Regions from separate parts of the Homo sapiens genome. Here region 1 is linked to region 2. The links are contacts of gene promoters, found by promoter capture Hi-C in blood cells and fetal thymus (Javierre and others, 2016). All regions are on one chromosome and are shown on one strand. The core of a region is centred on a gene start or on the middle of the fragment in contact, and the rest is flanking DNA. Distances in the headings are between cores, read along the strand shown. Region 1 overlaps DNAJC21 (DnaJ heat shock protein family (Hsp40) member C21). Region 2 holds the start of NADK2 (NAD kinase 2, mitochondrial).

Region 1 (4,311 bases), core at 776-3,275, 1.3 Mb before region 2:
AAAAGGAGCAAGAAATCCTTTTGAATTCTTACTTATTCAGCCTTCACAATGATGCTAATTTTTGTTTTTCAGGTATGATAATCATAGAGAGGCCCTACTTAAAGGTGGGTTTGATGGCGAATATCAAGATGACAGCTTAGATTTGCTACGCTATTTCACCGTTACCTGTTATTCTGGTTATGGAGATGATGAAAAGGTAAGATAAATGAACTCACCCTTGATTTCTCATCAAGTACTTCATTAAGACTCACATACAAAGAGAATTCTTAAAACTATTCTGTAATAGAAAGTGAAGCAGTGTTCATTTTGAAAACTGAAGATGCATTGCCTTCATGTTTAAGCTGTCAGTGTATAAAAACCTCTAGTTGAAATCTAAATGTATTGCAGGGACTGAACTTTGTCCCAAAATTCTTCAACATTAAAATTTTTCATTTTGTATTTTAAAATCTTTTTCTGTGATCAGGCTGCAAAAGTATTAAGAATTTGTTTTTGTTACTGTTTTTTAGGGATTTTACACGGTGTATCGTAATGTTTTTGAAATGATTGCCAAGGAAGAACTAGAATCTGTGTTAGAGGAAGAGGTTGATGATTTCCCAACTTTTGGAGACTCCCAGAGTGACTATGATACGGTAAAATAAAAATGCATTGTTCTATAATTAGTATTTATCACTGTGTCATTTTTAAATTTTATTTTACTTTTTGAGATGGTCTCACTCTGTCACCCAGGCTGCAGTGCAGTGGTATGATCATATCTCACAGCAGCCTCAAACTCCTGGGCTTAAGCAATCCTCCTACCTCAGCCTCCTGAGTAGCTGGGAACACAAGTGTGCGCCACGACATCTAGCTAATTTGTCAATTGTTTTGTAGAGATGGGGTCTTGCTAAGTTTCCCAGGCTGATCTTGAACTCCTGGCCTCCCTCCTTGGCCTCCCAAAAGATTGGGATTACAGGCATGAGCCACAGCTCCCAGCTTCTCATTTCCTTGTTTTAAAACAATTGGTTCTAGTTCTCGAACCTATCCCATGACCTCTCTTTGTCTCTCTTCCTTTCTGAAGTAGCTTTTCGATCTCTTGCAACCTTCCCCCTTTACTTTTCCCTTTTTATTTTTTATTTTATTTGTTTATTTTTTTTGAGATGGCATTTCACTTCTGTTGCTCAGGCTGGAGTGCATTGGCACCACCTCAGCTCACTGCAACCTCAGCCTCCCGGGTTCAAGCGATTCTCCTGCCTCAGCCTCCCAGGTAGCTGGGATTACAGGCTCCCACCACCATGCTCAGCTAATTTTTGTATTTTTAGTAGAGACAGGATTTCATCATGTTGGCCAGGCTGGTTTCAAACTCCTGACCTCAGGTGATCCACCCACCTCAGCCTTCCAAAGTGCTGGGATTACAGGCGTGAGCCACCATGCCTACTTTTCCCTTTTAATTTACTAATTGTTTACTGATTATTTACTAATCACCATGGTCCCATCTAGTGATTAGTAAGGCTATTTTTATTTTCTCATTAAGTTTATTTTGAAGAGTGATTTTTTCTGGAAAGCCTTAAAAGTACTGTCTTCTCCAGAGATTATTAGAAGTGTTATATACATGAAAAAAGAAAGGTAAAAGATGTTTCGCATCAGTAATATTTACTGCTTTTCTAAAAAAAAATCTTAAAGCGCAGAAGTTAATCTGTTTTCTTTGTCACTAGGTAGTCCATCCTTTCTACGCTTATTGGCAGAGTTTCTGCACTCAAAAGAATTTTGCATGGAAGGAAGAATATGATACACGACAGGCTTCAAACCGCTGGGAAAAACGAGCCATGGAAAAAGAAAACAAAAAGATTCGGGACAAAGCAAGGAAAGAGAAGAATGAGCTTGTCCGTCAGCTGGTAGCTTTCATTCGTAAAAGAGATAAAAGAGTGCAGGCGCATCGAAAACTTGTGGAAGAACAGAATGCAGAGAAGGCGAGGAAAGCCGAAGAGATGAGGCGGCAGCAGAAGCTAAAGCAGGCCAAGTGCGTAGCGTGCGTGGGGCCCTCTTCTCAGTATCGGTGGGGGTCAGAGGCAGCACCAGAGGTACCTTACATGTTCATGTTGGGTTCAGTCATCAGCCTGGCTTTATCCTGCTTTTTCTTCTTTTTTAAATTGTGGCATTGGATAGTGTTTTTTCATCTACTGTGTAAAAATTATTATTATTTTTGGGACAGTGTCATTCTGTCACCCAGGCTGGAGTGCAATGGTGCGATCTCGGCTCACTGCAACCTCCGCCTCCAGGTTCAAGTGATTCTCCTGTCTCAGCCTCCCAAGTAGCTGGGATTGCAGGTGTAATATGCCACCATGCCCAGCTAATTTTTGTATTTTTAGTAGTGACGAGGTTTCACCCTGTTGGCCAGTCTGGTCTCGTACTCTTGGCCTCAAGCGATCTGCCCGCCTCAGCCTCCCAAAGTGCTGGAATTACAGGTATGAGCCACAGTGCCTGGCCTAAAATTTTTATTTGAATTGGATATTTTCCTTCAGAGACCCTTTACATTTGAGAGATCCTTTAGACTTTTGTAAAACTTAATAATTTTAATTAATAACTAGCGTTAATTGAATTCTTCCTCTGTGCAAGGCCACGTTCTAAGTGCCTTCCTCACAGCAATGCTGTGAAGTACTTATCCTCCTTGTTCTTCTGAGGAAACAAGGCTGACAGGCCTGAGATCACAGAGCCAGTAAATGGTAGAGTCAGGAATTGAACCTGAGAATTCTGACTCCAGACTTTCCTGCTTTAGCCACCGTGCAGTACTGCCTTTTGGTCAGTGTACCCTGAGATACTCAGTTCATTTTAGTTCCTCTAAAGTTTTGTTATTAAAAAGTTACTGTAAATGCATTGTGTCCAGAGCATTATAGCATACTTTTAAAAATTATTCACTTCTTAAGAATTCTACTCATCCCACCCTCATCTTTTGAAAATTAACACTTTACCTACATGACTTAAAATCATCTGAAGACTTTTAATAAGTTGCTGAGTTTCATGTTTCAAAACCTGTTATCTACTACTGGAGCAATTAAAATTAACCATACAACAGGTAACAGGTTTAAGTGACTTTGCCTTGGTTTTAACTAAGCACAGGTTTTAAGTTTGTAAGCGTGGATAGGTTGGGAGCAAGCTCTCTAGTGGGAATGGATTTTAAACCTAAGTAGTAAGTGAAAACCATGCAGAGGCGTGCTTGTCGCTGTGAGACTGTGCTGTATGTGTCTAGACTGGTGGAGCAGTACAGAGAACAGAGCTGGATGACTATGGCCAATTTGGAGAAAGAGCTCCAGGAGATGGAGGCACGGTACGAGAAGGAGTTTGGAGATGGATCGGATGAAAATGAAATGGAAGAACATGAACTCAAAGATGAGGAGGATGGTAATATTATTTTTATTTTATTTATCTTTTTTGTTTTTTAAGTGAAGCTGGAAATCTCCTTGCTTATTTGACATCTCCCAATTTTTAAATGTGGCAAATAATTAAAAATAATGTTGTATGGGCCAAAGGTAGTCGGCTGAGCTAGTCTAATTCAAGTAATTTGATTAACAAATTCTTTTCTGACCATGTCCTAAACAGTGTGTACTTCTAGCTGCATAATATGACAAATGGACATGTTTACAAGTGTGACTATTTTTTTTTTTTTTTGAGACGGAGTCTCGCTCTGTCGCCCAGGCCGGACTGCGGACTGCAGTGGCGCAATCTCGGCTCACTGCAAGCTCCGCTTCCTGGGTTCACGCCATTCTCCTGCCTCAGCCTCCCGAGTAGCTGGGACTACAGGCGCCCGCCACCGCGCCCGGCTAATTTTTTGTATTTTTAGTAGAGACGGGGTTTCACCTTGTTAGCCAGGATGGTCTCGATCTCCTGACCTCGTGATCCACCCGCCTCGACCTCCCAAAGTGCTGGGATTACAGGCGTGAGCCACCGCGCCCGGCCAAGTGTGACTATTAAAGAAAATTCAACTAAGTGATAGGTCAAGTTTTAATAGTAACTATTTCTAGAAAAGCTGATATTGCATGAGAATCTATGTGTTGTGTATAAATTCTTCCTCTCCCTTGTGACTTTATAGAAGGGCTCCTCTTGGTGTGCCAAAATGTTGTTTTTTTTTTGCCGCTATCATTAGAGCACAGGTATTTGACTACCTTAAAAGGCAAGGATTAGGCATTTTTGAGAATAGCTGTATATCTGATTTTCCCCACTGTCTCTATAAAATTGACCCAGTTTTACCTTATCTACAAATGTGATTTTTCAGATTCGTAGCCCAAATAATAAAATGATAAACTTTTATTTATTCAAAATGACTAGGAAGTGAAGCGTTTT
Region 2 (4,224 bases), core at 1,348-3,847:
CTAATGCTATTGCATTCTGAGTATGGGCCTTTATATAAACTATAACACAAATTCAAATCAGTAAGGAACTTATCCAATAAAACTGTAATGACAACACCACCAACAAAAACTATTCCACTGCCTGGCAATTACAAAACTGTGTATTCTACAGCCCACGAGTTTTACTTCAAAGCTGGCTTATCCCAAACAGCATTACCTAGCAATAGACAAATATTTACCTATTAGAGATTTCTCCACTCAGAACGGGTACACTTAGGTAGTTTGACTTTTTAAGACTTATTGATTTTCCCTACATTTTAAAAGTTTTTTTATTAAGTGGTAATCTAGTTCAGAGGTCCAAGAGTTAATCCTAACTGAGATGCCACCCATTTTCTTGAGGCCTTGAAAACGTTATCCACAGTTTCAAAATGCCAGTACTGTAAAGGGCCTTGGAGGCTATCTGGTACTACCTCTGCAATTCACATACTGAATTAGGTGAAGCACTTTGAAAACTGACACTACTATACAAAAAGTATCATTTCCACCTATGAGGCCCAGAGAAGAACACACATAGGAAGTTAACCACACAGAACCAGGGCCTAGAACTGAGCTCTTCACTCTTAATCCCACACTCTGAACATGCCAAGTGAGCTATTTTAAATTGTTGTGGGAAGCTTCGATAAAACTGTATGCACATATTTATGCATACATGGCATTTGACAAATCCTACAAGCTAGACTTTGCAAAATTAGTACAACCCAAAGGGCACACCACTTTCCCCAAATAGTAACACTGTGCTTTCTTAGAACATTACTAGTCCCTATCTCACCTCTAGTTTCACTCCCTAATACAAACTCAACTACTCTAACCTCCTGTTCAAACCCTTTATTCTTTAAATGATGCAAGTGTATTCTATAAACAGTCATTTTCAAACACTTAGGAAAAAGAAAACAAATCTACACATCTAGACTCCCATCAGGTGAATGCAGGAGCCCTCTTCAGTAAACCCAACAAAGAAGCAGGATGTTTAATGTTGACAACAGATTCAGCACTTAAGCAAAGATGATTTACAATTTCATTTTGATGCCTCTACAAAATAACTTCGCTAAGATCACACGATACCAGAAGTTTCCAACAGGTTGTCTAGTCTTGCACAGAATTAAACTAAATCAGTTATGTGCAATTAATTCCAAAACCTTTTGGTGCACAGTGCCAACAATTAAGAGATTTCCAATATATTTTTCTGGACATACTGCTCATGGTAGCACCGGGCACTCTCCTTTTCCTAAAGTTGGTGGATGGTGGTATGGGATCAGAAACTGTTTTTAAAGTTGGTGGGGGGGGATGACAACAGGAAGATTCAAACTCTGGTTTTTCCCTTGGATTTGTATCTTTGCAGATATATTAATAAACATATCAAATATGGTATATTGTGGAGATACTGCTGCACAAGAGTCGCAGGCTTTTTTATTTCACACACTACCCAGTATACCAGCCCCTTGTCCTGACATTTCTCCTTAATAACGTACATATACAAGTCAAATTTTCTCCCTTTTCCTTCTTAGCACCAAAGACCTGTGCTTTTAAAACAAGCTCGTAGTGTCCAACGACCACGTTCCAGCAAGGAAAAGGCTCACGCTGAAGGACTTTCCGGAGTGCCCTAGGCCTCGCAGTCCTGCAGAGTAAAAGGGGGTGTGTCCGCGGTTGTTTCGGCCCTTTTCCCCCGGCAGCCCTCAGCGGCGCCCTGGGCCCCCTTTCTCGCGGCGGCCAGGGGAGCTGTTCGCAGGGCGTCCAGACCTCAGGCCACTGGCTCACTTTCTTGGAGTGGGTCCCAACCAGGGAACGAGGGCGGGGGCGGCGAGGGCACCAACGAATCCTCAAACCCCTCACTCTGAGGCCACTCGGCAGCCCCTCTTCGCCCTCCCCGCGGCGCCCCTGCCTCCTAAGTCCCTGCATGAACCACTGTCCCTCTCTCTCCCCCTCTCCCCGGCCCTGCCTCTCCCTCGCACACACGCCCAAAGGCAAAGGAGGCCCAGGGAGAAGCCAGAGGACCTGGGGGCCGCGAGAGAGGCAGGACCGGCATCTGCGGTGCCCTGGGAAGAGTCGTCCCGAGAGGTCCCCCCGAGGGGGCGCAGCCGCCACCAGAGCCCCGGCCGAGCCCGGGAGCGAAGCGGGGCCGAGCCAGGACCCACCAGCTGCTTCAGGTCCTCCTCCGAGAGCTCCGCGTAACGGTACCGCTGCTGCTCGAACTCGTACCGGGTGGTTTTGGCCACCACCACCACCCGGGAGGGGCGGAAGCCGCCGTCCGCGCGGCTGCCACAGCCCGCCAGCTCGCGCGGCTGCCCCTGCCCCAGGTGCCGCCGGCCGCCACCGTCACCGCCCAGCCGGGGCCGCGCGGCGGGGCCTCCCGCACCCGGTCCCCGCAGCGCCGCCGCCCGGCCGCCCGCCACGCGACAACAGCTGCCCAGCAAGAAGCCTCGGTAGCAAGTCATCGTGGGCCGGGCCGCGGCCGCGGGCTTGGGCTCGGGCCCCTTGCCTCAGCTCCCTACCGCCGGGAGTGCGCGCCGTCCGCGCCGCCCGGGCCTCTAACTTCGCGCCGGACGGGCAGAGGTTAAGTGCCAGGACGTGCGTGGCCCACGCGGCTAGGGGGACGTACCCAGGCGTTGACGAAGGCGGGGAAAGCGTGGCGATTGGGAAACGGGAGACCCCACGCGGGAGAAAGGTGGGCGGGGAAGAAATGGAGGCCCCAGCTAGTGGGTTTTGTTTGTTTGTTTATTCGTTTCACTCACGCCTGCATAATGGCTGCTTCGCCGCCCGGGGGCGACCTCCCCGCACCACACGCTTCCCCGAGGTCGCTCTTCTCCCGCCCCCAGGCTAACTCTATCGGCCAATCAGAGCCCGCGGCGGCTCCGGATCCGAGGGGCCGCGCCATTGGCTGCGGCCTGAGAAAGAGGTAGAATTCTGTTAGGCGATTGCGTCGCCCTGAGGAATCCAGCTGGATCCGGTCTGAGGCGGCGCGGGGCCAGCGGGTGGGGTTTTGAGCGGCTGGCGGGAAGGCAGGTTCCTGGCATATGCTCGCTTGGGTTCTGTTCTGCAGGCCGACCACGTGCCCATTGGTTTATTTGACCAGGGTCGGTGTGATAGCTGGTGTGTCTGGGGCCGGGCTGGGGGCTGAGGAGGCGGACCCGGCTCCTGCTGCACCGTGTGCGTGGCTTGGCACGAAATCCTCTCGGCGTGGGACCCAGTGCCCGCCCCGCTGCCCCCTGCCCCCCCGAAGAGCCCTACCTATAGGACAAAGTCCAAATGAATTAGTTCTTTGAAAGCTTTTAACTGGAAAGGAGTGAGTTAAAGCAATGTTTGATGACTATTGATCTGGCTTTGGAATCTTGGGTAGCTTGGGAGGCAAGAAGAGGAGGAAGGGATGCTGTTGGGATAATGACCCGTGGAGTGATCAGGACCTGGGCTGGGGTGTGACGAGAACAGAAGGAAACGTCCCATTGTAAGGGGAGAACCACATGGCAGTGCACATCCTGCTGTTCAATTCCGCAGCTCCTTAGATCCCCTTCCCCTGGCACTGTGTTTGCTCCTTTGTAGTCCTGGCGCTACGTCGCTTCTGGACTTTGGGCAGGTTACCTCATCTTTCTGGGCCTCAGATTCCTCATCTGTAAAAAGGGGGTTAGGGTGACCCCAAGGTTCTACCAAGTCCAAATCGATTCAGTGAATCTATGACTCTCCTCACGGGCCCACCAGCACCAGCGTTCATTCGTGGGTTCCCGCGGTGTGCCTGCTGTGTGCCAGGTAGTGTATTGGACTGGGAGCATACACAATGAAGCCCGATAGGTGTTTACTTGGTAAAGTTCTACCACTGACCCGTTCTCACCAAGAACTTTCCCTCACAGCAGCTGCTAATAGTGACGTGTAGTGTAACAACCTTAATAACCTGAGCTTCTAGAGGTAACATCTATAACTATCCTCAGACTCCTTTGTAGTCTTACTATTTTAAACTTCATTAGCATTAGGAAGGAAAAAAAAAAGGGAGAAATCACAGATGACGCTTAGGTTTGAGGCCAGGGTGAACAGGGGAATGTTAATTGATCCATTCGATAGAGAAAAAAAAATGCGTAGGGAGAAACTGTTTGGGATCAAAGTCTGAGTTTTGTTGCTCATATTTGAAATCTCGGACCTCATTTCTTCCCATTTCACAGATAAAAACCCAGATTTTTGACTCTCATTTCAGCTGCAAAC

The links. The method cuts DNA at HindIII sites, captures the fragments that hold promoters and counts their contacts. A CHiCAGO score of 5 or more calls a contact.
Region 1: a contact is called between a fragment that was not itself captured here and the fragment with the promoter of NADK2 in region 2, in 3 of 17 cell types (non-activated CD4 T cells, activated CD4 T cells and naive CD8 T cells). The highest score is 6.9, in non-activated CD4 T cells.

What each region holds. Positions count from the first base shown.
Region 1 is chr5:34,935,638-34,939,948 of GRCh38, forward strand. DNAJC21 (DnaJ heat shock protein family (Hsp40) member C21) reads left to right here. Exons shown (of 12, transcript NM_001012339.3): 3 at 73-196; 4 at 507-629; 5 at 1,689-1,993; 6 at 3,221-3,372. Among named protein-coding and RNA genes, the nearest start is that of DNAJC21, 8.2 kb to the left of the region's middle. The HindIII fragment of the contact is 5,867 bases long and covers 1-4,311 here.
Region 2 is chr5:36,239,328-36,243,551 of GRCh38, forward strand. It overlaps NADK2 (NAD kinase 2, mitochondrial), which reads right to left and starts at 2,598. Exons shown (of 12, transcript NM_001085411.3): 1 at 2,172-2,598. The coding sequence starts at 2,471. LOC124900962 (a long non-coding RNA gene) reads left to right here and starts at 2,575. Exons shown (of 3, transcript XR_007058733.1): 1 at 2,575-2,701. RefSeq lists enhancers at 1,503-1,572, 2,923-3,122 and a silencer at 1,663-2,682. The HindIII fragment of the contact is 2,649 bases long and covers 652-3,300 here.